Linked DNA regions of Homo sapiens: all the other regions are linked to region 3. The links are contacts of gene promoters, found by promoter capture Hi-C in blood cells and fetal thymus (Javierre and others, 2016). All regions are on one chromosome and are shown on one strand. Each heading gives the region's core, a stretch centred on a gene start or on the middle of the fragment in contact. The rest is flanking DNA. Distances are from core to core; before and after follow the strand shown. Region 1 overlaps LOC107987026 (a long non-coding RNA gene). Region 2 has its middle 26 kb from the start of MTAP. Region 3 holds the start of KLHL9 (kelch like family member 9).

The links. The method cuts DNA at HindIII sites, captures the fragments that hold promoters and counts their contacts. A CHiCAGO score of 5 or more calls a contact.
Region 1: a contact is called between a fragment that was not itself captured here and the fragment with the promoter of KLHL9 in region 3, in 2 of 17 cell types (M2 macrophages and M1 macrophages). The highest score is 6.5, in M2 macrophages.
Region 2: a contact is called between a fragment that was not itself captured here and the fragment with the promoter of KLHL9 in region 3, in 7 of 17 cell types (non-activated CD4 T cells, naive CD8 T cells, total CD4 T cells and 4 more). The highest score is 9.0, in non-activated CD4 T cells.

The regions. Positions count from the first base shown.
Region 1 is chr9:21,755,057-21,757,756 of GRCh38, forward strand. All of the region lies in intron 1 of LOC107987026 (a long non-coding RNA gene), which reads right to left. Among named protein-coding and RNA genes, the nearest start is that of MTAP, 46 kb to the right of the region's middle. The HindIII fragment of the contact is 2,458 bases long and covers 123-2,580 here.
Region 2 is chr9:21,775,190-21,778,109 of GRCh38, forward strand. No RefSeq gene overlaps it. Among named protein-coding and RNA genes, the nearest start is that of MTAP, 26 kb to the right of the region's middle. The HindIII fragment of the contact is 3,504 bases long and covers 1-2,920 here.
Region 3 is chr9:21,334,113-21,337,090 of GRCh38, forward strand. It overlaps KLHL9 (kelch like family member 9), which reads right to left and starts at 1,292. Exons shown (of 1, transcript NM_018847.4): 1 at 1-1,292. The coding sequence starts at 747. LOC107987053 (a long non-coding RNA gene) reads left to right here. Exons shown (of 3, transcript XR_001746634.2): 3 at 2,509-2,978. RefSeq lists enhancers at 722-771, 962-1,271 and a silencer at 1,312-1,481. The HindIII fragment of the contact is 830 bases long and covers 753-1,582 here.

The DNA.
Region 1 (2,700 bases), core at 102-2,601, 420 kb after region 3:
CCAGGAAGTGGATAAAATGATCTCTCAAAAGGAAGAAGGGGGTATCAAGTTCCCCACCCCTCCTCCTTGGTTTTCATTATGTCCCCTCATTGTTTTTTATTTCAAAATTCGAATAATGTGCAAGCTTTGATACATCCAGGTTTTTAATCCTGCCAAGAAAACATTGTACTTTTGAGATAATCAAGTAGACAGCACTACTCTTAATCTTGACAAAAAGAAAAGAAAAAATAAATAAACCACAGAGCTGATGAGAAGACCCTAAAGGACTCAGAGCTTGTAATGACACACATTATTTCCTTTAGTTTGAGTTTTTCCTTTCATGAAGAAAACTCTAAGATATACAAAAATAGTTCTTTATGGCTTGAAGCTCTTATATTGCTAATGGCTTTTGACAGTGGTATTACAGCTTGTTTAATCCAATTGAATTTGATTATTCATTCAGTAAGAAGATAAATTAGTTGACAGAGGAAATGTTTTTCAGTCACTGGTTCATATTAATGTCTGAAAATTCAGTTGTCCAGAAAAAAAGAGATAGGGGTAGAAGAGAAGCCAAAGAGATATAATTCTAATCAAGGATTTTCCTGAAATTTGAATTTGACTATGAAGAAAGTATTGATTGTGGGGAGAAATAATGTTAATTCCCTAAAACACAGGGTGAGAACTTTTTAATGGAGTACACATTACTCATCAAAATATAGTCCCAAACTATATTATCAAACATGTCTAACCCACTTTACACACATACACACACACACACACACACACACACCACCCTACGATGCAGTTATATGAATCTTTATTGTTTACTAAACATAATACATTTCCTCCTTCCCCACTTACGTGCCTTTGCACATTGTATTCTTTGTATCCTCTTCCTAGAATGCTCTTCTTTAAATTGATAAACTTATCCTTCAAAATGCAACAAAAATACCACCTTTTCAATGAAGTCCTTCAGAATCCCCCCAGTGTCCCATAGAAATTTGCATATCCTCTTAATTCAATGTCCTGCAACCTTCTTTGCACATTAGCACCCCTGGGATTTGGCATGATCCTATCAGTAATGCTGTCTCAGTGGGGTTTTATATGAGAAGGGGCTTTCTATGGGTGAGGCAACAATGGTTCTCTCTTGTGAGGTTGAAATTTCCAGGGTATGAGTTTAATTTGAAACACCCACAACTCCCCTTCCCCACCCCTACCCCAGCATAAACTCTGGCATATCCACTTCCTATTCCATGGACAATCACTGCTTCACTGCTCCACTTATTACTGTTGTCATAACATCTTGTGAATATTTGTTTCCGCCTCTCTTTCTGATACTAGATGGTATTATTCATTTTTATGGTCAATGTTCCCCTTCTCACAGTGAAGTATTTCACATATAGGAGGTGCTCAATAAATGTTTGTTCTAAGAACAAGGGCATGAATGAATGAGTAAATGCCTGAGTAACAGAATGATTTCTAGGACATCATAGGATTCGGCATCCTTAACTGGTGAAGAGATGAACCAAAACACAGTTATACTCTTGTGCAGGGAGTGGTCTGGGTAGCTTTAATTTGTCAGTAACCCCCAGCCACATGTTGCTATTGTGTATCTGAAGTGTGAATAATCTGAATTGAGATGTGCTGTGAGTGTAAAACTTCACACTGGATTTAGGAGACAGTATAAATACCTATATATATATCTACATATATATAAAATATATCAGTATCAAAAAGCAAAACATCTCAATTTTTATGTTGATTACTTGTTGAGATATTTTGATCTATTGAGTTGAAGTATATTAGTAAAATTAATTTCACCTGTTTCTTTTTATTTTTCTAATGTGACTGGTAAAAAAAAATTGCATATGTAGCTCACATGGCATGCATTATATTATATTTCTCTTGAACAGCACTGGTCTTAAGAAATGAATCTCAGGCCCTGAATGGTTGAGTCTAACTTTGGCCCACTCAGATGAAAGTCTCTGTGCAGGCAAACGAAGGAAGTTGATGTGCACACTGATCTCCTTGAAAGTGCATTGAAGCTATACTGAAGAGCACTGGGATCAACAGTAATCTTTCAATAATTTCTGGTTCTCCACTATTTTCCAGGTATCTAATCTGATCCACACTTCTCACTGCGCTTCTTATCACATATCATTAGGTATTAGTTGTGTGCACCCTTCACCTCAGCACCAAGGCTGTGTTAGCTTCACTCTTAAGGTCCTTCACCTACTAATAACTTTCCCTTTACCGGGACAACACAGATGCTGCCCAAGCTGCAGTCTTCCTATCCCCTACCCCCAAGTATCTTACTGAGGCACCCCTTGCTATGGATTCCCATTGCACTGATAGCATTTTCAACATTATATTGTAATTTGCTGTGTGTCTCAATAACTAGCCTATAAGTTCTTTGAAGGCAGAGACTCTCACAATCAATATTTAAATGTTACACACCAAGAGAATAAATCAGTTCAGTGATGATCTAATTTGCCCATAAATTTCCATCAAACATCTGCCCTAGAGAAATCATACTTCTTTAAAAAAAAAACATATATTATCTGACATAAAGAAAACATATCAAAGCCCTAGCTGGAATCAAGCTTGATGACTAAAATCTACTTAATCCTCAAAAAGCCTTGTGTCAGGACCCACCTTCTGCAAAAGCATTACAGTTTATTATGGAAAAGCGATTGCTAAAACACGTTGGCTTCCTTTTTC
Region 2 (2,920 bases), core at 209-2,708, 440 kb after region 3:
TAGTGTGGACCAAAATGATAGAAGTGGAGACAGTGAGAATTAACAAATTCAAGGCACTTTTTGAAGTAGAGGTGACAAGACTTGTTGATGATAGATATGCCAAATGTGAGCCAGGCACCATGGCTCTTGCCTATGATCCCAGCACTTACGAAGCCTGAGGCAGGAAGATCGCTTGAGCCCAGGAGTTCAAGATCAGCCCAGGCAACATAGCAAGACACCCCATCTCTACAAAAAATAGAAAAAAATAACCACGTGTGCTGGTGCATACCTGTAGTCTCAACTACTCGGGAGTCTGAGGTGGGAGGATTGCTTGAGCCCGAGAAGATAAAGCTGTGGTGGGCCGTTACCATGCCACTGCACTCCAGACTGGGTGATAGAGTAAGAGCTTTAAGAAAAAAAAGAAGGAAAGAAAGAAAGAGAGAGAGAGAGGAAGGAAGGAAGGAAGGAAGGAAGGAAGGAAGGAAGGAAGGAAGGAAGGAAGGAAGGAAAGAAGGAAGGAAGGAAGGAAGGAAAAGAGAAGGAAAAAAGTCAAATTTGAGAAAATAAAGAAAAAGGATAGTGCCTAGACATTTGATTGTGCAGTTTAGGGGATGGATAAGCCAAGGGGAATCCATATAAAGAGCAGATGTGAGAAGAAAAAAAAATTTTGGTTTTAACATGTTATGCTTCTTAGATACACAAATGAATGTACCTACTAGGCAATTGGATATTTAAACCTAGAGCTTAGGAGAAAGGACGGAGGGGGATTATCATCAGCATGAAGATGCTGTGTGAGGCCATGTGCCTGGATGAAATGGTCTAGGGAGTGAGTACAGGCAGTGAAGAAGGCAGGACCAAGCAAGAACATCAAGCTGGAGTGCTCTAATATTGAGAAAGGTAGAGTGTGCAGAGAAAACCAGGATGCAACAGCTGTGTGATGGAACAACAACTAGGAGATAGTGGTATCCAGAAGGGCTCGAGAAGAAAATGCTTCAGGGTGGATGATGATTGTGCCAAATCTGCTGTGAGGCTGCATAAAATGAAGATTGAAAATTAACTGCTGCTCTTAGCAACAGGGAGATTGCTGGTGATTTTGACAGAGCAATTTCAGGAGAGTGATGAGGACTAAATCCCAACTTGAGTGGGCTAAAGAGATGAGAAGTGAGAAAGTGAGAGCGAGTACAGAAAAGTCTCAAGAAACTTGCTATGAAGAAGAGTTGAGGAATGCAACTGGAGCTAGAGTGCAACCAGAAGTCTAGGAAAGGATTGGGTTTGTTTTGCTGAGATGGGGGTCTATTTGTAAGCTGATGGGAATGATCTACAGTAAGAAGGGAGAGTCATGTTCAGGAGAAAAAAGATGATTAGAGGAGTAAAGCCCTGGCACAGGTGGAAGGGGGTGAGAAGCCAGGCTGCAGGAGCTGTTTATCGTCTGTGACCAAAGAGAAGATGGAACACTTGGGTGTGGAGCAAGGAGGTTGGTAGATTTGGTAAAGGGAAAAGGAAGTAGTTCTCTTCTGCTTACTTCTATTTTCTTATGAAATAAAAATCTAGGTTATCAGCTGAGAGTGAAGACAAGGAGGGAATGTTGGAGGTTTAAAAAGGGGGGAAGATATCAAACAGTTGTCTGGACAAAGAACTGACCAGAGAATTCTACTATAAAAAATTTATTGAAGTGCTGAGGACCCACCAGAGATTTGTGGCCAAAATGTAAAGTAAATGTGTGTGTTGTTCTCTCATCCCATTTAGCTGCCTGAATGCAGATATAGATTAAGCAGAGTTAAATATAACCAGGGTTTGGGTTTTGCTAGGCAAATATAATGGAGAGAGAGAAGGACAAAAGAGTTGAGGGTACATAGAGAAGAGTTATAGTGACAAACCATGGAATCTAAGACGAGTAGGGAAAAAGGTAAAGAAAAGCGAGGGAGATGATTAGGACAAAGACTGGGAGTGGGTCCATGGATTACTTGAATGATGTTGTACTTAAGAGAGGAGTCAGAAAGAGATGCTGTGAATATCAGAAAGTGGAATGATGAAAAACTAGATATTGGAGGCTACTTATAATGACAAACTCTAGGGTATGACTAGGGTGAACATGATGGGGTTGGGGAAAGAAAGAGATGTTGGAGTCAGAAGGTCAAATAATTGAAAAGGCTTACTGAGAAACTGATCTAAGTAAGTAGTGCTGAACCCTGCTGCATATTGAGATCATAGGTGTTGTGGGGTTTTTTTTTTTTTTTTTTTTTTTAGAGCAAAACAAAATCTAGTGGCTAAATCCTACCTTGACTAAATTAAATCAGTACCTGTTTGGCTTGGGGGATGAACTGAACACAGGTAGGATTTTTAAAACATCATGAGGTAATAAAAATGTGCAGCCAAATTTGAAAAATAATGACATACATAAATTTTGAAGTCATTAAATATGATGACAGGAGTCATGGTAGAAGGAAATGCAATGAGCCAGCTGCTAAAATCTTCCATCATGAAGTGGAATGGCTTGGAAGATAGGAGATGAAGGGTTTTTGAAAGAAGAAAAACAATGAGAAATAAGGAACATTCCTATCCCCACCTCCAGGACCTGGAAGCATAGGGTGTGGGAGCAAAAACCACCACCCCCTGCAAAGGCTGAAGGTAAACAGGATATGGGTTGGGTTGGGTGGTGAGCCAGGGCTTAGAGCAAGAAGGTGAAGGTGTTGTTCAAAGAAGAGTTGGAAAATAAAAGAGACTGTGCTTCCCAAGCCCTGAATTCTAGCAGCTGCATTGGAAGGGATTGCAGTTTTGGAAGGAATGGGAGATTGAGTCAGATCAAGGGATATACAGAAACATATGGAGGAGAGTTCCTGTGGTGACCTGGAATGCTTGGACTTCTATGGTGACTGAGGCCAAAAGGAGTATGAAACATGATGATTAGTTCCATCGCCTCTAAAGGAAAGGTGGAAAATTA
Region 3 (2,978 bases), core at 42-2,541:
ATCCTGTGGTGTCATCAGTGGAAATCGAATATTCTTCATTAACTTTGCAGCATAATCCATCCGAGGGTCTTCCAACCTTAGCCAGCGACAGGCTGCCTTAAAGAGTTCAAGTTCGGTACAGTGCTTAAGACTATTACTGGAAAGCACAAATGCAAGTCGTTCAAAAGGGAGTTTTAGAAACTCCCCAGTACTCAATAAAGCAGGAAAGTTCTTCAGGATGAAATTATTAACATATTTATCCACTTCTATAAGATTGTAGGTGTTAGCAATTCGTCCAACCTCAACACAGTTATCCAAAGAGACTCCTGATATAAGAAATACTTTACAGAAATCCAAAACGGGTAATATTTGTAAAAAGCTAGCAGCTTCAAGTGTGTCCTGAAGATTGTCCATATTAAGAGAAAGTTTTGCAGTATAAATAAAATCAATGATTTTCTTCAGACCAACCTTGTTCACCCCATGAAGCTTAATGCACATCAAATCTTGTTCTTTCATTCCACCTGTGAACATGGCTTTGAAATAATCACTAGCAGACGCCATCATAGCTCTGTGAACAGGGAAGATTTCATCTCCATCACCTGGTACCAGGGTCACATCACAAAGCAATCCTTCTATTCTAAGCTGATCAAAGCCTTGCAATACCACCGAACTGTGAGTATTGCTGGTAAAAAAGCGTGTGGTTCCTGCCTTACAAGGCTGCAAATGGGCAGAGACGCCCATTTCGCCGTTACCAAGGGACACTTTCATGTGAAAGCTTTCCTCTTGCACAGAGATGCAAGCCGGATAAAGAAGTTATAACCGGAATGTTTTACAGGTAACGAGGTGTCCAGAAAGAACAGAAAGCTCGTTTCCTTATCAAGGGAAGGCAGTCACTGCGGCACCCCTCGGGCCACGCCAGTCAGTCATCCACTGAAAATCACCCTGTAGCAGGACCACAAAGGGCTGTGGACCTCAAATCTGATTATTAGACAGATGATTCATCACCTGAAGGCGGTTAAATGACCTGGTTCACCTCGTCCGGCCTGCGCTGCCGCTCCTTCAGCAGTTCCGCTTCGGGCAAGGAAGAGGCGCCGCCACGTACTGTGGCTCCACGGCCCGCTCGGCGGCGGGTCCGGACACCTCAGCGAACGGCCCGCTGCGCCCTCCGCTGTACCTAGAGTGTCGCAGCGGCCACCGGCCTGTCTTTGAGCAAGGGCCGGGAACACAGGCCTGGGCCTGGGCTTGGGCCTAGAATACCGGCCTAGCCCCAACACCGAGCCGCTCCTTCCGGAAAAGCCTAGTCCCAGGATACCACGGGGTGGGAGCGGCCTTAGCGGCTACTGCGGCTGCGCGGCCTCCAGACCTCGTCAGTCAGCGGGAGGGTGGGGGTGGGGAAGGGGGAGGAAGTACCCGGGAGGCGGGAGGGCGAGGGTTGGGGAAGCGGAGCTGTGTGGGGTGGGCGCCAGCCCGGCCTCTTAGAGCTGCCTTGTATGTGGGACCAAATAGGACAGAATGTGTGCAAGCAAGTGTGTTATGCTGCACGTTTGATATAAGTTTTTCGCATATCTGAGCTCTTACGTTCCCCAAATGCATAATTTTTCAAAGCTTTACGCTTCCTAGCTTCTGTTTTTTTGAATAACAGTGAAATGCGGCATTTGTATAAATTGAGAGGAAACCTGGATGCTTAATTTTTTTTTTCCTCTACAAAACAATAATTGTTATCCCACATTATGTAGTAGATACTTCAGTTACAATTTTGGTTCATATTTTCAAATTTGTTACAATTTCAAACGCAAAATATTTGTCTTTACTAGATTGTTACTTTATTATGTAAATGATATATTCTAAATTTTTGGCTTGAAATGCCTTTGTTTTCCACAATTTTAAAAATGGCTACATAATTTTCCAATAACTATACATACTATAGTTTCCTTTGCCCATTGGTTTGTTCCTGAATGTGTACCTTCTTATCCTCCATTGTTTTATAGACTCGGTAGTAAACTTATACAATCTGGTAGCAAAATTTTAGCCCTGTTATGGATAATATTTAGTAAAATACTGATCCAAGACAATATTTCCAAAATATTATCACCAACAATGTTTGTGTCTTTCCCTTCTTCTGACTTTTCCCTTTGTGAGTATTTTATTAACTTGCATTTCTTTAATTAGTGGTAAATTTAAATTTTGACATACAAATAAATGTATACTTTGACACAATTTCTTCCATTTTCCAAATTTTGAAGTTTCTGTCTTTTAAATCCTTCTAGTTCTTTATGCATATGCAAAGTAAGAATGTAGTCATGTTTTTCTTACACTCGCCTCGTTTTTATGTAAAAGATAGCATACCATGTACACTGTTCTGCATCTTTTTTTTTCACTTCAAGATCTTCCTGAATTAGTGTAGAGGGCTTATTTATATTTTTAAACAATTCTGTTGTTGCCTTCTGAGTTGTTACATCATAAGTTATTTAACCAGTGCCCTGTTGATGGGCAGTTCATCTGTTTTGAATGTTTTCTATTGTTTCCAAGGGATGGCAGCAAAATTCAGAAGGCTTAGACTACCACTGTCCTCCACAAGGTGCTCCAGCAGATTGTCACCTTATTCAACACAAGAGGTTGGTTGGAATGAAACTGGCCTGGAGAAATTATTCACTGAATTTTTATCAGCATTGGGAAGTCCTGGAGCCCTGCTTGTTGAATGAGTTAGGGGTGGAAGGGCTCTCTCAGGCCATGACAACTCCCTAATGCTGTGAAGAGCTACTTCCAAGGAATCAGTCTCTATCTGGAAAAGAAAGAAGAGAGCCTCTGTACATGGGAAGTTGGAGCAAGAAATCATGAGATCCTTCTTTTTTTCATCAAACTTGCAAGTAAGATTAATAGCTTAGGAACAGACTTGTGTCTTCATGAAATGATTACTATAGACACTCTTCATTATATTCCCATATGTTTAGTTATTTTAAAAGACTATCTTTTCTGCCTGCATAATGAAATGATTGAAT